Linked DNA regions of Homo sapiens: regions 1, 2 and 4 are each linked to region 3. Evidence: promoter capture Hi-C in 16 types of primary human blood cells and fetal thymus (Javierre and others, 2016). All regions are on one chromosome and are shown on one strand. Each heading gives the region's core, a stretch centred on a gene start or on the middle of the fragment in contact. The rest is flanking DNA. Distances are from core to core; before and after follow the strand shown.

The links. Contacts are between HindIII fragments. The CHiCAGO score rates a contact against its expected background, and 5 or more counts as called.
Region 1: a fragment that was not itself captured here is called in contact with the fragment with the promoter of NR2F1-AS1 in region 3 in 2 of 17 cell types (total B cells and naive B cells); the score reaches 30.3 in total B cells.
Region 2: a fragment that was not itself captured here is called in contact with the fragment with the promoter of NR2F1-AS1 in region 3 in 2 of 17 cell types (total B cells and naive B cells); the score reaches 40.4 in total B cells.
Region 4: a contact is called between a fragment that was not itself captured here and the fragment with the promoter of NR2F1-AS1 in region 3, in 1 of 17 cell types (total B cells). The highest score is 5.4, in total B cells.

Annotation. Positions count from the first base shown.
Region 1 is chr5:88,689,597-88,692,786 of GRCh38, reverse strand. All of the region lies in intron 1 of MEF2C-AS2 (MEF2C antisense RNA 2), which reads right to left. It overlaps GSCAR (glioma stem cell association long noncoding RNA), which reads left to right. Exons shown (of 3, transcript XR_007058863.1): 3 at 1-1,030. It also overlaps a transcript of MIR9-2HG not described here. Among named protein-coding and RNA genes, the nearest start is that of GSCAR, 6.0 kb to the left of the region's middle. RefSeq lists a silencer at 1,370-1,596 and enhancers at 2,152-2,831, 2,832-3,190. The HindIII fragment of the contact is 1,189 bases long and covers 1,195-2,383 here.
Region 2 is chr5:88,670,738-88,674,054 of GRCh38, reverse strand. It overlaps MIR9-2HG (MIR9-2 host gene), which reads left to right. Exons shown (of 4, transcript NR_152235.1): 2 at 2,970-3,019. Among named protein-coding and RNA genes, the nearest start is that of MEF2C-AS2, 3.8 kb to the left of the region's middle. RefSeq lists enhancers at 1,164-1,777, 1,778-2,390. The HindIII fragment of the contact is 7,016 bases long and covers 1-3,317 here.
Region 3 is chr5:93,579,126-93,582,511 of GRCh38, reverse strand. It overlaps NR2F1-AS1 (NR2F1 regulatory antisense RNA 1), which reads left to right and starts at 1,293. Exons shown (of 8, transcript NR_186187.1): 1 at 1,293-1,370. RefSeq lists a silencer at 848-897 and an enhancer at 1,018-1,117. The HindIII fragment of the contact is 7,751 bases long and covers 1-3,386 here.
Region 4 is chr5:88,649,763-88,653,105 of GRCh38, reverse strand. All of the region lies in intron 2 of MIR9-2HG (MIR9-2 host gene), which reads left to right. Among named protein-coding and RNA genes, the nearest start is that of MIR9-2, 16 kb to the left of the region's middle. The HindIII fragment of the contact is 1,156 bases long and covers 1,404-2,559 here.

The sequences.
Region 1 (3,190 bases), core at 540-3,039, 4.9 Mb after region 3:
CCGAGAAAGGAGGGGACGGTAGCTAACTCTTTCGGCGGAGCTGAACCCCTACCCCCTCCCTCCTGTGACCCGAGCCTACTGCGAGACCTGGACACCGCCAAGTGGGGCAACGTTTCGCTCTTACAGCAGCTTCCCGACCTCTGCTAACTCCCAGGCCATTTCAGAAGGCGCAAAGGGGAGAAGGAAAAGTTCAGAGAGCAAACGTTGCTCTCTAGCCTCCCCCAACCTCCAGTTCCTCTCTTCCTTCCCCTGCTGTCCAAACTTCATACTGTCCACCAGGGGAGACTGCCCCCCGACTCGGCTGTCCCTCACTAACGCGGTGGTCCCCGACCTAGGGTCGCAGATGCACTTCCCGAGGCACATGCGGGCGCAACAAGGTAACTGCGCTCCAGGCGTGGAACCCCAGTCCTGAGCGATGTGAAACCAACCCCAAGCGGGCTGTGCTCACAGTTTGGGAAAAGGTAATGTCTCTGATCCCCCCATATCCACCCCTCCCCCAACCCTTGAGGACAGATTCGGGTACCGCAAAACCGCCAGGCACAGAAGGGAGGAGAGCTGGGACGGACAGGCTACTCCCGGGGAGGGGATCACCTCCACGTTCCCGCTCCAAGCGGCTGGTAGCTGCTAGTAATTCAGACTTCTGGCCTCGGAGGAAGAGTGCCAGGGAAGAAAGAGACTAAGAAATCCTCAAACGCCCGTAGAACAAGACCCGGGAGAAGTGCCCAAGTGGGCGCGGCCGTCGGCGAGGTCAGTTTAGCCTGTACTGGACCGTGGAACCCTGAGCGCTGAGGCTGTGGGGTCGCGGGATTCTACTGGGCCTCGCCAGCTTCCACAGTCTGCTGCGGTCTGTGGAATGGGGAAGGATAAAATACAGACTTTGGTTTATTTTAAAAAATGGTATTCTGCCTGAACTATCAGGTCCATGGTTTGCTTTTGGCGCTTGCAGAAGCACCAGGACGATCTTTCCAAAAATTTCTGCAGTAGTTTAACTAACCAATGAAATAAATGAAGGTTAAAAAACCAAAACAGATCATTTTCTCCTCTTGGCCTTTATTTTATTTTTGTTAAGCGAAGGGGTTCTTTTGTTCTTATTTTTGTCTTCTTATTTGCCTGAGGGGTGTGAACTCAGGAGCATCTGGACCTTTCCACACATCATTTGTTCGATTACTTTCTTGTTGTTGACCCAACTAAGCTTTTTACGTTTTTTTTTTCTCAATTCTTTACAGAAAAAAAAAAAAATCTTGGGAGTACTGATGAACTTTGTTTACAGAATCACACTCCGACTCCTTCCCCTGAATCGCTGGTGCCTCCGGAGCTTTGAAAGCCCTGCTTTTCTCTAGGTTCAGAAACCAAAGTTATTCACGCTCACTTCTCAAACCCTTTCCATATGTTCTTCTCTCGCTGGAAAAACTGATAAGTAACAATGTGTGTGTGCACGCGCGCTTAAATTGCGTTTAGATTTCAGATACATCAGAAGAGCTAAGGTCTTTGGTCGACACCACTTGCTGACGGCTCTTTCTCCCTTAAATTGGGGACTTGTGTCCCTCCCTTGCATTGGATTCAGAGGAGACACGCGAGCAGCTGCTCAGGAAAGAGTTTTCTCTGCTACACGCTCACTCGCGCTGCATATCTCCTCATGTCCACTAGAGGTCACTGGCCCCTCGCGGCTCGCGGTGCTACCGGCCGCCTCCCGCTCCTGAAGCTCAAATTAGCGCGTTAATTAACACCCGAGTCCATCAAGGCGCGTTCCTCAGTACAGTACTCCAGCAGGGCTTATATAGACAAACCAAACCCAGCCAAATCAAACCTCCCCAAATCCAACATTTCCTGCATGTCCAAAATGGGAGACAGGCGCCTGAGTAACCCGGGGCAAGGTATAGTGCAATCACGCTTTAACTTTTGTTCTGTGGGGCTTGCTAAGTTGCTGTGAAGATAACATTCTCTGCGAGCGCAGGTTCGGCGGGGCCCGGCTCCGTTCTCCAGCTCTTCAAGGCTGGGCAGCGTGAGTTTTGGCCCCCGCAGCACACTGGTCCTCCGAGCGAGTTTCTCCAACACGGTCGCTACGGGGAAGAGGGGCGCAGGTCCACACCGTCCTAGGCGCACACGAATGTAAAAGGAGAATATTTGTTTAGGATATGATGCACAAGAAAATGCCCAGATGTGGAGAAAAGAAATATAAAATATGACGTTTCTCCTGCCTTTTGATGAGAAATGGGGAAGGGGCGGGGGTTGACTGTGGAGACCGACGCCGGGAATTGACTCTGGTGATTTTAACGCGGGAGCTAGGGGGGTGGCTGCGATGTCCAGAGAAGGTCACTGACTCTTGCTTATTGTGCGTGTGTGTGTGTGTGTGTGTGTGTGTGTTTAAGGTCCACACGAAGCTTTGGGTCTAGCTTTTATTTTATTTTATTTTATCTCAACCAAAGCCCAATAAGCATTTCCCACTATGGACTGGGAGGAATTAGTCACGTCTCCAGGGCCTCAACGAAATCCTTAAGGACTGCATGAAACCAAGCCCAAGTTACATTCCAATAGCGCTGTCCACGATCGTGATATTTGTAAATCGCCATGACGAGTCCCTTTGACATGGTGCCCTAGTGAGTGGAAGAGGCGCCTCTAGAGCTCTTAATTCTTTTGAGAAAAAATCTTGGAAACATTAATTCGCGTTCTGACAAAAGGGTTTACAAGGCTCGGGGTCTTTTGCCTTAGCGGGGAGCAGGAAGTTTGGAGAGGAACAGTGTGGATTCCTAGGAGTTTGGGGACTGACCTTTGTTTTTCATGGGATCATTGGTGCGGACCCCAAAGATCGGGACGGTCGGGCCTTCACTAGAGAGGGATCCAGCGTGTTAACCACCGTTTGCCCCAACTGTTCAGCCGTAGGCAAAATTAGCCTGCCGCGCCCTCATTGCGGGATGGGGCTTCTCCTGGGTTAGTTTAATGATGGCCGATTAATAAAGCCATTGTCCGCCTTCAGGCGAAAGCAGCAGCCGGGGCGGGTTATGGGCCGCGTCCACGTGTTAGGCCACGCCGCAGGCACCTCCAAGGTCCGCATCAATAGCACCCAGGGGGCTGGCGGGAGTGAGAGCTTCCGGCAGCCCCGCGGCAGATGAGTCCTCCGCTGGTGACGGGGTCGGAGGGGGCATCCCTGGAAGCCCGCCCCAGTCTGGAGGAGAAAGGGGCGTCCAATGCT
Region 2 (3,317 bases), core at 208-2,707, 4.9 Mb after region 3:
TAGAATACCTCTAGAGTTTAGAGAATAAAATTCTTTAGAATGCATTGCTTGTCTTTAGCTAAACACATTTAACAACCACGACACAAACGGGGAGGAGTGAAGAAGGGGGACTTGAACCAAAAGACCTTTAAAAAAAAAAAAGTCTGCGAGTCAAAAGGTCATTCTCCAAGTTTGTAAATAAAATTGCAAAGGGAGTCCTTAAGAAAGGAGAGGAAAGAAGGGGAAGAAGGTTAGGAAGACTCACAAGTTACATAAAACAGTGCATTGGAAAAACGACAGGGAGATTCTGTAATAAAAAAAAAAGAAGAATCTTAAGAAACCAAGAGAGAGAAAAAAAAACTGGAGGAAAAAAGAAAAAGAGAAGAAAAGGATTTTAAAAAAAAGAAAAAAGCAAAAGAAGTTTCCAAAGAAATGTGTGCTTTGCATCCTACAATAGGAAAATGTAGCCATTGCCTTCCTTCAGACGAGACATTTCTAATTTGTTCCGTCTGTCAGGAGGGGACTATGAGAGGTTTGGGTGCAAATTCATTATCTCTGGCAACGCAGAACGTAGTGTGGGGACTGAAAAAGACCGTGGCAATGGATGAACAATAGGGCTTCAGTTCATCAGTAACAAAAGCAGTGGGGAAATTGGTTGAGTTTCAGAGCACGTCCTCCTCGGCAGAGGGGGCTGGACTAGACCTTGGACAGCCCCCCCAAAAACTTGCCAAGCCTCGCACACACCACTTCACTCTCCACTCCGAGGCTCAGGGAGCAAGTGCCTGGCATGGGGGGTAAAAGTTGGCTTTTTTTTTACTCCTTGGTCTTTTGCGCCCTTCTCCCTCTCCCCAGAAGGGAAGACCCATTTAAACTATTTTAGACGCAATCAACCAAGAATCACCATGTGGAATTGAGCGGCAGTTTTAAATGTGTTGAGCAGGGGAGAGGAATGATGAGAAAAACATTTTTTTTTTTTTTTTTGGAGACGCCGAAAGAAGCCTGTTTGTGTGCTGCGGCCGTGCTGTGACTTTGGATCTTGTCTTTCAGCCGGCGCCTCGGTTCCTGCCCAGCTGGATTTGGGGGGCAGCATTGCCTGGCGCAGGGAGATCAAGTGAGTATCGTGGCGGCCCTCAGGCTGCAGCTCGCCCGCGGCGCGAGGCCAGCAGTGCCCGCCGCGGCCCCGCGCCCGCACTCCTCACCTCGCCCGCTAGCCGGTGCCCGCAGAGTCCCGCTGCGGGCCGCTCCGAGGGCCAGTCCGGGGCTTTGCTTCAGCTAATTGATTGTGTGCCTCGGATGTTAAACCTGTTGATCTCGTGAGTTTTCTTAGCCAGTACTGTTAATTATCCAGCGGCTTGACCCCCAATCGCAGAGAGATGCCAGGAAATCTTCGCGTTGGAAAAGGGAATTTTTGTATGTAATTTTGTGGTGGTGGTGGTGGTGGTGTGTTTGGGGGGGCTTTTCCCTTTTAAACCTAGAGCAAAATGCACTTGTATTTTGCACTTCTGTATTCGAATTCGCATTTTGAAGAATTCGCCTCCCTTTAACCGCCCCAAAGTTGCAATTACCTGGCAAGGAAGCGAGGGTCTGATTAGATTTTGGTGGAAAACTTAGTACAGTAGCTAAGTAGATCTGGTGGCTTTCCACTTCCCTTTTCTCTTTGCCTTTTGAATTTTGGGAGGTGAGAGGCCGCTTTACAGGGTTATCCCAAGTTCAGATTCATCAAGATGCAACCATCATGGTTAGTTATTGGTACTTGGAGCGGTTCAGCTTAAGACGCTTCTGGTATCCAAACGGAGCTAGGTCTTTGCGGTTTGCTTAGAGTCTAGACCCGGCTGAGGAAGGCAAGAACTCCTTTCTGTGGCCTGGAATTATCTGCAGGAACCCAGGGTGATGGGAACTCGGGCAATGTATTTGCATTAGTGTCTGCGGCGTTTTATCTTGCAAATGTACCCGCGGTGCTTGAATGGGGGACTGTCTTGAGGGGTCAGGAGAGCAGTGGAATTGATCAGAAGTTAGACCGGAGGCTCTGTCAAGTCACGGCCACGGCCGGGGGCCCCTTTGGAGCTGTGGCTGCCTTGGGCCCAGCACCGCAGAGTCGGGTTCCGTTTCCTCCCTTTCTTGGTGTCCACCTCTGTCTACCACCCTCCTTTCTCCACCTTGGCACCGGTAATTAGGGCGCTGTCTCAGGAAGCGAGCTCCCACAGTCAGCATAATTAAACCAGGGCAATACTTTCATTTTGCAAAACCAATAGCCCCACCCCTCCAGTCCAAAATAACAATAAGCATTAAAAAATCATAAAAGAAAAACAACCTATTTTGGGGAGTATTGAATTCCTGAATGTTGGATCGAGAGGGAATGGGGGAAGGGAAATTTTCAAAAATCCACCACTTTACAGCAATCAGGTTTTACATTATTCATTGATTTACTGGAGGAAAGAGCCAATCAGGAGCCATAGATATGAATGCACATCTCACGGTGCTGTGGCCTTACAGTAAACTATTTGCATCTTTCTAATGGAGTAGATATTTATCCAGGGATTGCCATTGTTCGAAAGGCCTGGAAATTCAGTTCCTTAAACATTTAGAAAATAAGACTTTGTTCCAGACTTAAAATCCTTACATGGAAGGACTCTCCTCTTTTGTATGGCAGGTTACAAGGTTCAAGTCCCTAATGTTTTTTTAAGAGTCCCTCTTCCTTCCAAGCTAAAAATAAAAGAAAAGAAGAAAGAAAAATTAATTTCTCAAACCCCTCCAGATTCTGCATATTTTGCATTCACATTATCATGCATGTCTCCATTTGAATGCAAATTAGCATATTTAACCCCGTGGGTGCTGAGACCTAGGATACATTGTACTGGGGTTTTATGGAATCTCTGGCATTTTAAGGAATCATGTTAATAGCAATATTTTAAATGAAGCAATATCTATATGACTTCATATGTATACATATATATAAACTGTGATCATTTGTTTTCTTGACTATTTTTCAGATGAGACTGCAAAGAAGCATAAAATGAATAGACAATCCAACCAACCAAAGGTAATTTTAAAATTTACATTTGATAAAATCCAAGTGATGTACAAAATAGAGTATTATTTACTAGGCGGTAGGCATGCAGTGGGTTGCATATCTCCTAATTCATGCTCTAAGTTTCTATATGTGCAGCCTTCTCCTCTACAGGGAGCCTTTGTATATTATATATCAAGCATAATACAAATATAACCTGTAACTGCCTATAAAAAAGAAATTCAAGATACAGAGTAAATAATAGAATACTTTTGTTAGAAAGTAAGCCAGTCAGGTACCTTGCCTGAACTATACAAATCACTGTAAATTA
Region 3 (3,386 bases), core at 44-2,543:
GATTCTGCTCATTTTATATCCTTTTTAGAAACAAGTAGAAACAGGGTAGGATCTCCCTATTTTTTAATCCAAAGTATACCTTGGTTTAAAAGGTTTAATGATGACAAAGCACACTCCTGGAATTTGCAGCTATTGCCACAAATTCGATCGGAATCAAGGGTTCCTATTTATCCCAAAGATGATTTTAAAAATAAACTTTCCAATCAATCCAATTTTTCCTTCTTCTTTTTTTTTTTTTTTATCACCTGGCTGTTCCAAACTCCAACAATGCTTCAATCATTATTAATAAAACAGTAGTAAGTCCCCATATTGTTGCAGGGTGGGGGGAGATTAGTGTGGCCAAGTCAGTCCCGGGAAAAGAGCAAACAAACGAGAAGATGGAGAGGGGGGGAGGCGGAGAGGGAGAGAGAAAAGGGGGAGGAGGAGAGAGAGAGACAGAGAGAGAGGAGAGGAAAGGAAAGAGAGGAGAGAGGAGAGCGCGCGAGATATTGAGAGAGAGAGAGAGAGAAGAGAGGAGAGGGGAGAGAGAGAGAGAGGAGAGAGAGAGAGACCCAGAGAGAGAGGAGAGAGAGAGAGACCCAGAGAGAGAGAGAGAGAGAGAGACCCAGAGAGAGAGAGAGAGACCGAGAGAGAGAGGAGAGAGGAGAGAGAGAGAGAGGAGAGAGAGAGAGAGAGGAGAGAGAGAGAGAGAGAGACGAGAGGGAGAGGGAGAGGGAGAGGGAGAGGGAGAGGGAGAGGGAGAGGGAGAGAGGAGAGGGAGAGGGAGAGGGAGAGGGGGAGAGAGAGAGAGAGAGAGAGAGAGAGAGAGAGAGAGAGAGAGAGAGAGAGAGAGAGAGAGAGAGACCGAGACCCCGATTCCTGAATCCTGAAGGTGATTGGTCGCGGGAGGAGGGGCAGGCGGGAGGAGCGGGTCCCGCGGCGGGGCTTGCAGGAATCGCTGGCTCCGGCTGCCACCTAGCGGACGGGAGCCGCTCCCGGGCGGCACACAGCCGAGTCCCTCCTCCCCTCCCCGCAGGCAGCCTGTGCCTTTTCTCCAAACGAAGACAGCACTTTGAAAATTCTTTCAATGGATTTTTTTTTCCTTGAAAGATCGTACTGGGGGAAAATGATACTTCTATTAGTTACATATTCTCCAATCGCATACTCGCACCCCCCTCGTTTTGAGATCGCTCCCCTAGGCAGGCTCAGGCGGGCGCGGAGCCGCGCGGAGTGACAAAGCCGCCGCTGCCGCCGCCGGGGGTGGGAGCCGCGCTCGCCCGCCCGCCCCTCGACTCGCGAGGGCGTAAAAGTTTGTCTCAGCTCGAGCATTCCTAGCGCCAACACGCCCTCAGGTAAAGGTGGAAGTAAATGGCCACGCTGTATTGACAGAGGTAGGGTTTGTTTTTTAATACTCGTTCTCACTTTAAGTCTCACCAGGGAGGGGTTTGGGAAGCACTGCGTGTTTGGGGGACGTTTTGCGCTTCCTGGTCTCTCCAGCCTACAAGTCGGGAGTCGGCGACCGCTTAGTGACGAGCGATGATTTTAAAGAGCAGAATAAAAGGTTTTCCCGTGCCTGCCCCACAGCCCCTCCAGCTCGAATAATGGAGAACTGTCAATGCACTCCGCGAGCGGTGGCCCATTGTACGCAGCTGATGGCGAGGAGGCGACTGGGGGTAGCAGGGGCTCCTTGCCCTCGTCCCTATGCCCAAATAAACGCGCAAACGCGCTCCCGTCTTCTGGTCAGTTAAAAGGTGAAACGAACACGATTAAAATAGACCAAAAGAAAAGAAAGAAAAGAAAACCTTTCTATGTACAGATTCTAAATCGTACTCCCCATACAGTCAGAGGCAGGGAGTCGAGGGCAGAGGCAGCAGGCGGAGAGAGGGAGATAGGGCGAGGGAAGGAGAACGCGGAGAGAGACGAAGGGAGTGGGAGACCAGCGACAGCGAGCGCCAGGGCACCGCAGGCACACTGGATGCCCAGTCCGCCGGCCCAGCCGCCCTCGGACCCTGGACCGTGCGTCGTGGGCACCAGAAACGAGACTCGGCCAAATCCTGCCTCACCAGGCAAGTAACATAATGGTTGTCGTTTCTCTTGAACTTGGGGTTGGTAACGGGCAGGGCCGGGAGGCAGTCTTGGCTCGCACGGCCTCCGCAGGCCGAGAGCAGAGTCTAGGCAGCCAGGGCGGGACGAGGAGAACTTTCTTCGGGGCCTGCTCGGGAGTTGCCCTCGCTCGGCCTCTGTCTCGCCGTAGCGCTAAGGCGAGGATCGCGGCCGCCGCGCCTCCTTGGAGGGGAGGATCGTGCCAGGCGAGCAGCAATCCACATTCAAAACAGGCTGCTCCCACCCCCACCCGCTATTCCCTCTCTCTCCTAGGCGGGAAACGGATGCCCGGGCGGAGGACGGGGACCCGCACGTTTAACACCGGCCCGGCTGTTCCTGCTGGTGCCGAGCGCGACCCGCGGTGGAGCCGGCTGCAGAGTCCGGCCCGGCTGGCCCTTGTGCCCGCGCCTTGCCTGGTTACGGCCTGAACCTGGCGAGCTTGGCTGCAGCCGCCCACCTGCGGACGCCGTTTGTAACGCCATCCCCTAATGTAACGCGATCGATGGCTGCCTGTCTGATGTGGGCGATAGTGTCAGCGGATTAAAAGGGACATCGAGCCGCTCTCCCGAGCAGACAACCTGCGGCGGCGGCGAGAGAGCACCGGGATTCGCAGCCTAGCAGCCGAGCCAGACTCCCTGCGCCGCTGCCAGCCGGCTGGGGGCGGGGAGGGGGTCGCCTCCCAGGGGTGGGGACAGAGGGGGTGTGTTGAAAGGAAGAGGCTCAATTAAAACCAACAAGAGCGCTTTCCTCCGTGCGGGGCAGGGGCGTGCGTTTGCGTCAGAGGGCGCGCGGGGGGCGGGGGCAGCCGATGCTGGGGACTGCACCCGGGGGCTGGGGGGTCTCGGAAGCGAGGAGGCCTTGCCTAGCTGGGCTGGCCCGGGGTCAGGCCCTGTAGGTGAGGGCCAAGGCGAGACGGGATGACAGCTGAGCCTGCCCGGGAGCAGAGGCGCCCACCCATCCTTACTGTGGGCTCTCCGTGCCCCCACAGAGCTTTCAAACTTGAAAGAGGCCCCTGGGACCCGGCGTGACCCTAGCGGTGGGGAGAAGTTGGGCCCGCGAGGCCTCAGGCGAAGCCGCGGGCTCCTCCGGAAGGAAGGAGGAGGGTGAAGTCCCCTGTCCTAGTCCCAGGGGTGGGAGTGGGAAGCTGTTGGTGGTGATGCCCGGAGCAGCGGAAGCCCGCGGCTTTTCGGAGGAGGGGAGCGGCTCGCACTCCTACGGGGCATCCTTGCCAACTTTCTGTCACAAGAGGGGGCGGGGAGAAACCAAGGCTTTTCGAGGAGGGCGCTGTCCCCCTCTGGAACTCG
Region 4 (3,343 bases), core at 732-3,231, 4.9 Mb after region 3:
TAGAAAGCCTTGGAAGAGGACTTAGAAAAAGTATAAGAAACGATGCTCACACCCGGCGCGGCAGCTCACGCCTGTAATCCCAGCAGTTTGGGAGGCTGAGGCGGGCGGTTCAGTTGAGCCCAGGAGTTCGAGACCAGCCTGGCCAACATGGTGAAATCCCATCTCTACTAAAAATATAAAAATTAGCAGGGCATGGTGGCAGGCGCCTGTTGTCCCAGCTACTCGGGAGGCTGAGGCAGAAGAATCGCCTGAACCTGGAAGGCGGAGGTTGCAGTGAGCTGAGATCGCACCACTGCACTCCAGCCTGGGTGACAGAGTGAGACCCTGTCTCAAACAAACAAACAAACAACAACAACAAAAAAAGCTCACTCTAAGAAACCTAAGATCAGGTTCAAGTGACTAACAAATTGTGGGATACCTATTAATGAGTATATTAATAGAAATCCACAGTAAAGACAAATTAGTATGAATGACAAATGAAGGATTATTTGGAGAAAGTAATATTTGCATTTTTGAGTCGGGGCTTTGAAAGACTTGTAGAATTAAGATAGTTAGAAGAAACAGCATTATTGGTTAGAAAAACAAAATGATCACTGATGACCTGAATGCATGAAGGAGCACAGCACGTTTTTGAGAATGAGAAGACAGTAGAGTTTTATATTCAGTAGTGATGATTATATTTGTGGATAGATGGAATAAGGCCAGATTATTTATATTCTTGAAACTTGGCCAGCAGGGAGACTTGATGATAGAAATTACAGATAGTTACTTCAGATTTCTTCTTTGATATATTCAACAAATATTTATTGAACAGCTACTGTGTGCAAAGTGCTGCACCAAGCATGGGAGAACAGTGGTAAACCAAATCCAATTCATGCCCTATCTCATGAAATATTCTAGTCGGGAAGCTAGACTTTAAACAGCAATTACACAATTACACAATTAACTAATTAGTTATGGAATGATACATTTTGTAATGAAGAAGTACATAAAATTATGAGAATATGTAACTAGTCTGAGACAAGGACTGGAGTTAGGAAATTTTCCCTTAAGATGTAACGTTTGACAGGGTTAACTAGAGGAGGAGTAGATGACTGAGCAAAGGGAAGGGGTCAGGCAGACCTTTATAGATAAGGAGACAACACATGTCAAGGCCCCCAGGTAGGAAGAAGGCTTTCATTTTGAGGAACTTTAAGCTCAGTGTGATTAGAGTACAGAAATATATGGAAATCAGGTAGGATGGACTAAGATGAGGTTAGAGAGGGAGACAGACTTTGTGGGGTTTTGATCTTTGACCTAAGTGTGGTGGAAAGCCACTGAATGATTATAAACAAGGGAGTGGCATGTTTGGATTTATTTACACTTTAAACAGATCATTCTGTCTGAAGTATGAAGAGCAAGCTTGTCCAACCCATGGCCCATGGGCTGCATGTGGCCCAGGATGGCTTTGAATGCAACCCAACACATGAGATTCTTTTGGTGATTTTTTTAAAAGCTGATCAGCTATCATTAGTCTTAGTGTATTTTATGTGTGGCCCGAGACGATTATTCTTCCAATGTGGTCCAGGGAAGCCAAAAGATTGGACACCCCTGATGTAGAGTAAGAAAAGTGTGGTTGAGGGAAAAGTAGTTATGTAGCAGAGGTAATTGTTAAAAGATGATTGTGGGTTGGACTAGGGTGTTTGTAGTGAATCTTAAAGGTGTTATGATACAAAATATGACCACATAAACAAAATGAGGTAAGTAGCATTTAAAGAAGTTTCACCGTAATCAGTATTCAGGTGAGCCACAATGGGCCTAGTAGGGAATTAGGGAAATAGTTGGAGACTGTTGAAATAATCTGAGAAGGTGATGAAACCTGAAGTTGGGAACAAAGAAGAGAAGACATGTGATAGAGACATTTTAAAAAGAACAACATGTAGATTTTTTGACCTAACGTTTTGTCTTAGTACCATAGTGGCTTTGGTGGCTAGAAGAAGGAGGGTGGAAGGAAAAACAATCAACTCCTTTCAGAAGTGGGGAGTTTGCAGTATCATCCAGTTAATCAGAAAGTCCAGATATAGGAGTATGATTCTATTTGGAAGGCATCAATAGACATTTGTGATTAGGTTAAAATGATAAAATATGTGAAGTTTGCCAAGGAAAGTATAGAGAGCAGAGAATAGCAAGCCCAAGTATGGACACTGACACTGGGGGAAGGAATAAGCAGATGTCACTCATGGAGTAGTTTACATCTGGAAACAGTCACTCTTTGTAATTTCCTTTTGAAAACAACTTATTTTAGCTGTTTGCAATTTGCTTTTGAAGACAACTTATTTTAGCTGTTTAATGTGTGTTCAGTTATTGAAACAAGTCCTCACAAAATGTCTGCAGTTTGCCACATTTAAGAATATGTTATGTTGAAAGAAAGGGAGGAGAGACTAGTTGGAGACTGTTCATATAATTCTAGAAATAATTGGAATGTAAGTAATGCTTCATAAACACATAAATTAAACATGATTATCAAGTTATCCATTATATGCTCAAGTTCATAGGAATTCCTTTTAAAAAATATAAGCTTATTTCTTCATTTAATAAGTATTTATTGAGAACCTGTTACTACTTTTGGTCCTACTGATTTCTGATTATGGAATCTACATTTTAAAGAGGAAAGATAGTAAACAAGTAAATAAAAGAAAATATCAGATAGTTATCAGTGTTATGATAAATAAAACATAAAAGGGGACTTACTTTAGAATGGGTGGCCAGGCAAGACTTACTTGAGGAAGTAATGCTTAAAGTGACACCTTAATACATGAAAGCATAATGATTACATTTAAAAAACCTATAATGAGATACATATACTTGTCCATCAATTTACATGAGATTAATGAACCTATTTGGGTTTAATAGAAGCTAAAAATCTTGACTTGATTTCTCTTGGTTCTCTATTCAAGACTATAAAAGACAGAAGGGTAGAGGGCAAAACACTGTGATATGAATGTGATTCTTTGCATGCTTCACTTCCATAATTATGCATCCAAGTTCAAAGAAAAAGCTACAGGAAATAATTTCTTTTCTTTTTTTAAAAAAAATTCGATAGATTTTGGCCAGGTGCAGTGGCTCACGCCTGTAATCCCAGCACTTTGGGAGGCTGAGGCGGGCAGATCATTTAAGGTCAGGAGTTTGAGACCAGCCTGGACAACATGGTGAAACCCCATCTCTACTAAAACCATAAAAATGTGCTCCAGCCTGGGCAGGGTGAGACTCTGTTTCAAAAAAAAATTAGCCATGCGTGGTGGCAGGTGCCTGTAATCCCAGCTACTTGGGAGGCTGAGGCATGAGAATCTCTTGAATCCGGGAG